Regions from separate parts of the Homo sapiens genome. Here region 2 is linked to region 1. Evidence: promoter capture Hi-C in 16 types of primary human blood cells and fetal thymus (Javierre and others, 2016). All regions are on one chromosome and are shown on one strand. The core of a region is centred on a gene start or on the middle of the fragment in contact, and the rest is flanking DNA. Distances in the headings are between cores, read along the strand shown. Region 1 holds the start of SLC36A4 (solute carrier family 36 member 4). Region 2 holds the start of CCDC82 (coiled-coil domain containing 82).

The links. The method cuts DNA at HindIII sites, captures the fragments that hold promoters and counts their contacts. A CHiCAGO score of 5 or more calls a contact.
Region 2: a contact is called between the fragment with the promoter of CCDC82 here and the fragment with the promoter of SLC36A4 in region 1, in 7 of 17 cell types (total B cells, fetal thymus, naive CD4 T cells and 4 more). The highest score is 9.9, in total B cells.

The regions. Positions count from the first base shown.
Region 1 is chr11:93,196,424-93,201,095 of GRCh38, reverse strand. SLC36A4 (solute carrier family 36 member 4) reads left to right here and starts at 3,105. Exons shown (of 11, transcript NM_152313.4): 1 at 3,105-3,318. The coding sequence starts at 3,264. RefSeq lists a silencer at 2,964-3,343. The HindIII fragment of the contact is 1,801 bases long and covers 2,488-4,288 here.
Region 2 is chr11:96,388,662-96,392,780 of GRCh38, reverse strand. It overlaps CCDC82 (coiled-coil domain containing 82), which reads left to right and starts at 2,869. Exons shown (of 10, transcript NM_024725.4): 1 at 2,869-2,937. JRKL (JRK like) reads right to left here and starts at 2,768. Exons shown (of 2, transcript NM_001261833.2): 1 at 2,708-2,768; 2 at 1-2,298. The coding sequence starts at 2,131. The coding sequence ends at 557. RefSeq lists a silencer at 2,696-2,955. The HindIII fragment of the contact is 1,223 bases long and covers 2,089-3,311 here.

The DNA.
Region 1 (4,672 bases), core at 1,856-4,355:
TGGTCTGCTCAGCTGTTCCTTTGGAAAACTGTTTCCTTCTCCACAATGTCATCTACATGGTTGTATCAGGAACTACCACAATATATGACTTTGTCCAACACTCACTTACTTAACTAGTCCAGGGATGGGAATCTGATCCAAAATGACTCAATCACAGCTCTTCCCTAGGAAATGTTTAAAACTGAAACCGAGAAAAAGAGACCAGTATGTTTCTGATCATTCAAACTCTAAGATAAAAGAATTGAGAGCTTTTAGGAAACATGTTTCCTACCAGGTGAACCTGAGAAGCAGAGGAGTTCTGCAGTGGAAACCTGCACAGACACACAAGCAGATGCACAGAGAAAAGCGATCACTGAAGAAGAGAGTCTCAGAGGCATAAGAATCAGTTGTCCTGAGCCCAGTCTCATCTCTGTTCTAGCAATCTCAGTGTCCTCATTAAATTCCTCTTTTGGCTTAAGCTAGTTTGAATTGTCCTCTGTATTGCAATTAAAAAAAAAAAACTATAGCTAATATGCTCACTTTATTTGATGCTTCCTGTGAATCAGGCAATGTGTTAATGCTTTATATATTTTATCTCATTAAATCTTCACAACTTGTAAGGTTGGTGACATTATTTTTCACATAAGAAAACTTTAGAGATCTAACTATTATATAATAGACAACTCTATCTAGATGTTCCACAGGTGTCTAAAACAGAACCATTTCTCCATCTGTAAAAGAGGAAAGGCTAGATTCACTGCTGGAAATGCTCTTCCCTCTACACACACCAAGCCAACTCCTTCTTACCTTCATGTGTCAGCTTAAGTGTCTTCAGATAAGACTATCCCACCTTCTCAATCTAAAGTAGGTTCCGTGGTGGTACCCTGTTATTTTCCTAACCAACAATTGTAATGACATATTTAGTATTTTGTTTTGTTCTGTTCTGTCACATGCTATATACTATGAACTCCATGACAGTAGGGACCATACCAACATTATTTGCCCTTCTAGCCCCAGCATCTAGCATACTTCCTGATATATGGAAGGTGCTCCGTAAAATGTGCTTGAATACATTAAAGACTTCTAAATGTTTCCTTTCATATACCTATGAGGCTATATTCAGTAACTTTCAACAACTGTTCATTGAGTGACTGGTATTTGTAAGTCACTGTGCTAGGCCTGTTTGGACAAAGACAAATACAGTTAATTCCTCAACAGGCCTAGCACAGTGCCTTGCACATAATAGTATACAGCATAGTATAAAGCCCAGAAAGAGGAATAATTATAAGTGGAGAAGTGTTGTAACAGAGATACGAACAAAGTGCTGCAGTTGCAAAGAAGGAAGTAGTTAAGATGTGATGCAAGAAGTTAAAGTCAGGAAAAGAAATGAATTTCCAGGGTTCAAATTGTCACATTCTGTATAATGTCTCTATTTTGATACAGCTGTACTTTATATCTGCTTCTAATTTATAAGACCTGGAGTAGAAGTCCTAGTAAATATGTTCTCAAGTAGAGATGCATGAAAAACATATTTCTCTTGAATCTTATGATCATTGTTATCACTTGCTTTATCTCCACATCACTGTAAAGACATTGGGCCTCCTACCTCAGCCCAACCCTCTTCAAAAGATTTCAGGCCTATACTACAAGTCAAACTTTTCTTCCTTCCATATTGCCAGATCTGCTTTCCCTGAAGCTGAGATTAGGGGACAATGACTTTTGATCCCTTTTAACTCTCAAAGGATAATGTTCTTTTAAGATGCTGTCCCACATGTTCTCATTATAATGAGTGGTTTATGGAAAATTACCTTGGTCCTATAATTTCTGTCTGATGCCTATCTTCTCTCCTGCTGATCTTTAACCAGGTGATCCACCCCAACACAGGTTAGGGAACATTGCTCTAGCTATGTTCCAGAATAGATTTCTTCTTCTTCTTCTTTTTTAAAAAAAATCTCCTTTACCCCTTTATTTGTCAGGAACACTTCAAATAAAACCTTCTTTTGGGATTTGCATGTGTATGTATGTGAACAAATTGGGTTCACTTAAAGGAAAAGAAAGGGGGTTGGCAAACTGTCATTATCACTAGTTATCTAGTGAAAGCCTACAGAGGATGCAACAGGAGGAAAGATGTAGATAGTATGTAACTGCGTACCTTTTTAATCTCAGAATTTTAAATATTTAACACCATTGCCATATAGTTACATCAGTGACTGTTAATCAGACCCACTCCCCCCCAAAAAAACCCTTTCCTAAAGCAACCCCACTGAATGAAACGGACACAAATAAAAAGGATTGTCTGGTGTACTGACTTCCAAGAACTATGAAGTGAAAAAAAAAAGAAAGCGATTTTAAAATTAAAATAAATATTTTCCTTTTAAACCAAAAGCTTGCTTCATCCATTGATTCATCGAATATTCATTGGTACCCATCTGGGAGGCCAGCTTTGCATATTTTTCGAGAGCTCCAGCTCTGAAGGCAGAAGGATTCTACTTCTGCCATGTACAAGCTTCCTGTCCCCAGACACGTTACTTACCTCCGTGCCTTAATCCCTTCATCTTTAGCGTTAATGTAAATATTAGAATTATCTCACAAATTGTAGTCAGAATTAAAGATAATGTATGTATGGTGCTTAGGAGTACTTGAAACTACATCAGTACACTTAGTCTTTACCTTAATTTTCTTTCAGCACCACGGTCAACGTCAAATATCTGGAAGGACATTGAAATATCCTGAAAGTGAAATTGTATATGACTTAATTAAATTCTATTTAAGTGTCTCCTGTAACTCTAACTATAGAAACAGGGAGACGAATAACCAGAGTAGTCAGAACCTCAGCATGGGTAGGGGACAAATCCCGTCCTTCTTCGCATTCTCCAAGGTGACTTACAGAACGCTAACGCCTTGCATACGGACAGGCGCCCCAAATTTAAGTTCGCCGTCATCTTTAAAACCCCCAGGGAGCTATGGGCCCGGGTCTCGGCTAGCTCTAAGGTCCCACCCTCGCTGATCTCAGGTTACCCAACCCTCCTCTCGGGTTACCCAACCCGGCCTCGCAGCAGTCCTCGGGTCTTCGGCCCCTCCCGCCCCTCGCCGGCGGTGCCCGCCGAGCCGGGCTGTCCCACTGCGCATGCTCCTCGCCGCGCGGTTGGGGAGCGCCGGGGCAGGGAGGCGGGCACCAGGCGCGGGTCCCTCCGGGCAGGGGAGGTAGGCCTGGGCCTGACGCCGGCCACGCAGCGGCGGGAGAGTGAGCACTCGGGCGGCGGCGTCCTGGAGACCCGCGAGAGATGGAAGCGGCGGCGACGCCGGCGGCTGCCGGGGCGGCGAGGCGCGAGGAGCTAGGTCGGTGTTGTGCGTGGGCAGGGAGCCGGGGCTGACGTGGGCGGGGGTCTGTGCGGGAGTCGGGTGCGCCCACACCTCCAGGGGCCCCGCGCTTGGCCTGAGTTGAGGCCCGATTGCTAACTGACCCCGTGGTCAGCATCCGCAAAGGAACCGGTTATCTGACCCCGAGAACTTGGTCAGACGAAGCCCAGGCCTGAATAGGGCGTTAAAATATGTGTGTGTGTGTTTGCGCGCGCGCGTGTGGGTGAGTGTGTGTGTTGAGTGGGGCGGGGCCCTGTGGGTACACGTCAAAGACGCAAGAGCCTGCGCCGTGACTCACGGTTTTTTTCCCAATGATGCTTTAAGGAAGTTATCATTGTTCTGCTTTTCAAATGCTGCAGCCCCATTCGGAATCTCCAGATGAATCCTCATTTTACTCCTTGTTATCCCAGAGTTTCGAACAGGTCGTGCTGACCAGAATGAACAGGAGATACCTGTAGCTTGCTCACTTGGCAAAGTTTGTTTGTTTTTTGCTGCTTTCCTCCCATCTTGTTTCTTGGCGACAGGGCGTGTTTGTTTACGGTTTCCCGCTGTCCAAAATAAAAAAGTAAGGATCAGGGTGGTAAAATGATCGCTCTCCCAGTTATACGTACTGTACTTGGGAGTATTTTTCATTCGATGCTGATTAAATGTAATTAAAAAATTAAATCTAAATGGAATCTTCAAGAAAACCGTTGAACTTTAAAAAATACCGTATTATAAGTAACTGATAGGTTGTTGTTATTCCTCTAATAGCCTGCAGGGCACTTTGCAATGGAATTGTTTTCAGGCCGTAATAATGGTAGAAACAATAAACTTAACATTTTATTGCGTGCTTACTGTGTGCAAACACTGTGCTAAGTGCTTTACCTATGCATTGTCTTTAATCCTCACAGCAACTGAGATAGGTGCTATCATGATTTCCATTTTATAGATACAGTAATTTTAAGCTTATTAATGGCAGAACCCAAATGTGAACTCAGGTTTCATTCATTAATAACCTGTCTTAGTGAGGATATGGAGAAATGGGTATTCTCATGCATTGCTGGCAGGAAAGGGATAATATATTTAGCCTTAAAAATGTACATATCGGCCTGGCGCGGTGGCTCACGCCTGTAATCCCAGCACTTTGGGAGGCTGAGGCGGCCGGATCATCACAAGGTCAGGAGATGGAGACCATCCTGGCTAACACGGTGAAACCCCGTCTCTACTAAAAACACAAAAAATTAGCCGGGCGTGGTGGCGGGCGCCTGTAGTCCCAGCTACTCGGGTGGCTGAGGCAGGAGAATGGCGTGAACCCGGGAGGCGGAGCTTGCCGTGAGCCGAGATCGTGCCA
Region 2 (4,119 bases), core at 1,620-4,119, 3.2 Mb before region 1:
CCCACACAAATGTAAGAGAATGAAGGCATAATTTCTATAATTCATAATTATTTCCCCATTATTGAATTTCATTTTTGAATTATTATAAATCATCCTGAAATCTAATAATATAAATCTTTCTCATCCTATCAGTCTATTAAAATATACAAAACATCATTTAAGATGGTTAACACAAGAAAAGATAACTATGGCAGCCTTCATAAATCAAGCAAAAGATTTCAGAAAAGTGCTTCAGTCTGTTCAGTTATCTCTAACTTTCACTAGAAAATTAAGGGAATGCCACTGTTACAGAAGGTATAATTGCAGATTCTAAAAAGTGAATACATGTGTACATGTAATTTATATCTATTCAGTATCATCTTCTGATTATCTGTACAAATAAAAGGACAAAAGACACAGATGATGAAAACACATAATCCTCAAACCACTTCAGATACATTTTGTGCCTGTATTTCACAGGACCAAGTCTGAGAATTCAGAACACAAAGAAAATTAAGCCATATTGCAAAGAGTTTGTCACAAACACAATGAGCAGAACAATAAAATTGAAATGACATTATTGACTTGACTTTGTCATCTTCTGTTTATTTCTGATGGTGGCTCGAAGTTTACGTATTACCAGTCTATCAGGTAGAATCATATCACCTTGTTGTTCTAGATAATCCAATAAATTTTCAGTCCACTGGAGGGCAGCTGCATGATTAATATGTTTCTCTGGAATTAGTTCTATTTCCTCCTCCTCATTTTCACTGGATTCATCTGCCTGGCCTTGTGCTCTTCTGATGATTTCGCTATCAGTTAACACTTCATAGCCTGGTTCAGTACTGTCTACTTCAAGCCATTTTTCAAGGTTCTCAGTAGTCACATTTTCCAATCCTTTGGTGTGTTGTAAAATGGCAGCCACAGTAGCCACAGAAATATCTTCAACATCAAAGTCCAGGCTCTCTTTCTCCTCTACCATAGGGAGAATCTTCTTCCATGCTCTGCTAATGGTAACTGGTTTTACTAAGTTCCATGCCATTGCTATTTCATAAAGTGCATCCAACAGAGTTAGCTTCTTCCAGAATGATTTCAGGTCATTACCTTCTTCCAAGTTGTTCTGGAGAAGACCTGCACGATAATTTCTCTTCATCGTTGCTATGACTCCCTGATCTGAAGGCTGAATCAATGAGGCCACATTAGGTGGTAAATATTTAGCAAATATTTGGCCATCATCTGACCTTAGGACATTTTCATTTGGATGTGTTGGTGAATTATCCAACAAGAGCACAGCCTTTTCCTGCAAGCCTTTAGATCTTAAATACTCTCGAACTTGCGGCACAAAAATTTTATCAAACCATTGTCGGAAAATGGAAAGATCCATCCATGCACCTTTTTGGCTGAAATAAGAGACTGGCAGGTTTAAGGTGTCAGTTGATTTAAAGGAGCGAGGTTTCTTTGCTTTCCCCACAACACAAAGTTTAAGTTTGTGTAAACCTGTTGCATTGGCACAACACATGATTGTGACTCTTTCTTCAATTGATTTGTGCCCAGGGACAGTGCATTTACCTTTGATTACTGAAATCCTAGAAGGCAAGCACTTCCAAAAGAGTCCAGTTTCATCTGCATTGTAGATTTGTTCAGGCTGTAAATTCTCTCGTTCAATAAAATCTCGAAAGTTATTACAAAAATCTTCCACCGCAGTCTCATCTCCATTTAATCTTTCATTTCTAATGTTAATCTCTCTAATGCTGTGCCGCTGCTTAAAACGAGTTAGCCAACCGGCAGAGGGGTTAAAATCACCATCCATTCCCAAAGCATAAAAGAAGAACTCTGCCCTTTTTGCACAAATTGGTCCAGATATGGGATTCCCTTTTGCTCTTTGCTGGTTGAACCATTCCAGCATTGCCCTGTCCAATTCCTCATACATGGATGGCTTCATAGATTTCCTCTTGGCCAAAAGACTTGTGGAATCAGAACTGCTTGCATAAGTTATAATCTTTTCCTTATTTTTTCTTATATCCCGAACTGTTGTTTCACCAATTCCATAAATCACTGCCAGTTGTTTGGAAGAACCTCCGTCTTCAAGTTTCTTTATTATATCAAGCTTATCTTTAATAGTCAACACCACACGCTTCCGTTTCCCTGACATAGCGAGGTTCTGGGACTCACCCCACACTCACAATGTAGCAATCCACAAAATCCTTCCTTCTCTTACACAGGCTCACTTCAACAGTCTTAACACACTCAGTCTTTCATCCTTACCAGCAACCTGGTGGCCCTGATCCCCTCCCGGGCTGGGGTTGGCTGGCAAATAGACTGCAGAAGAAGGTGAAAGAGGAGGAAGTTTGAGAGAACAGGCCTTTCTTTAACTTATACGGGCAGTAGCGGAGGCCCCATGTCACCGCGGATAATCCGGATTAAAAGCATGTGTTTTATTACCCCAGCAGCCGTGAGAAAGACTATACCCCCATTGTGGCCACGAACCTCCTGCACGTCCAGATCCCGGGTAACCGCGCGTCACTAACCCCTGCCACACCCCAAAGTTACGACAGAGAGCCGAAGAGCCTAGGAGTCAAGGACTGGCACCCTTCCTCAGGGGAACGGATATATTAGATTCCTTCCCCAGCAGCAGGGCCCTCCCGCCGCGCAGCCCCAGTTTCCCGCGCCAGCTTTAGCCGGGACAGTCCTCCCAGTCCCTCAAAACCCGCCAGGCCCCTCTCCCCACCTCTCTTGCAACCAGGACCCGCACAGCTCCCTGACTATCGCGCGGCAGTCGCTCCGCCCCTAGCCACGCTCCCGGAAGATGATCCCTCCCGCCGCCTGGCCCCACCCCTCGCCCCACCCAGAGGCGGGACTTCCCTTGGTCCCCGGAAGGGGGGGAGGAGCATCGCTTGTCCTGAGCTGGTTGCCGGGGCAGGGGCGGAGGCGGAGGCAGAGGTGGAGGCGCTTTGAAAGGTGAGAGCGCGAGGGCGGTGCGGGGCTGTCTCCCGGCTGGGACTCGCTCGCGCTCCCGGTGCTAATGGTTTATGAGAGGGGCGGGGGAAGCCGTGCCTCCTCGCGGACTAAGAGAAAAATTCCCGCGGGCGCTCTTTGGGTGGGCCGGAGAACGCCCCTCAGCCCTTTGCGCCTCTAACCCTCCTCAGCTGAGCTGCAGTGGGCGCGGTGCCCGTTATTTCCGCCTTGGGGAGGTGCTTGGAACTGATGTAGGGAGCTCGGTTGGTGATTTCTCGGGTTTCTGGCCTTTCCAGACCCTTGTAATTGTTTTCTCGGTGCAGAGCTCTTTTGGGGTCTGGGGGTTTCCGTCGTCCTGCGCGCGTCATCGCGAAGCTTGGCCTGAGGGTCCGGTTTCCTAGCTACTGTGCCCCTCCCTCCTGGAGGCAGAGTGACGGACTAGTGGGCTAGCGGGCGCTGGGTTCCTGCGTCCCGCCAAAGAGGTTTGTAATCATGAAAGTCACCCTTCCGGGTGTTAATTCCTGAGAGGATCTATTCCACTGTCTACCACTCATTCCTGCTGCATTAACCTTCATTGTTAACGGATTTTAATGAATAATATAGTTATCCCGGATACCATGCTGGCAGGATCCACTTTGCGAAATTGTGGACTGTTGGACTGTGATTCTAAGTGGGGGAAATAGGCTTTCCTCTCTTTATGTTTATTTTCTTATATCCTATTTCTGTCATGTTCTGTCTTGTTTTCCTGCCAATAGAAGAACTATGATAAATTTATTCATAGCAGTGTGATAAGAACTTGATCTTAATCATACACTGTAGCCCTCAAATCGTGTATTATGCTGGCTTGTTTTTGGTGTCCCTAGTAATTTCATCAGATTGTGAGCTCCTTGGGAGCAGAGACCATGTTTATTTGAAATGGTGGCAGCACAGTTCCTAGCAGGTGCTTGCATTTTGGTAGATATTCAATAATTATTTTTCGGCTTATTAATCTTTGCTCTCCAAACTGCCATATAAAAGAAAACATCGAAGAGGAGTGATGTTTTACACCCAAGAATGGATCCCTCCTGGTAGAATTTCAAATAATGACCTGGGGTTCCACTGCCTTTCAAATCTGTAAAGTGTTAACTACCACCTGCATTGTTTATACAGCAAGTAGGTGATTTCTAGAATGAATCTTTTCTTGAG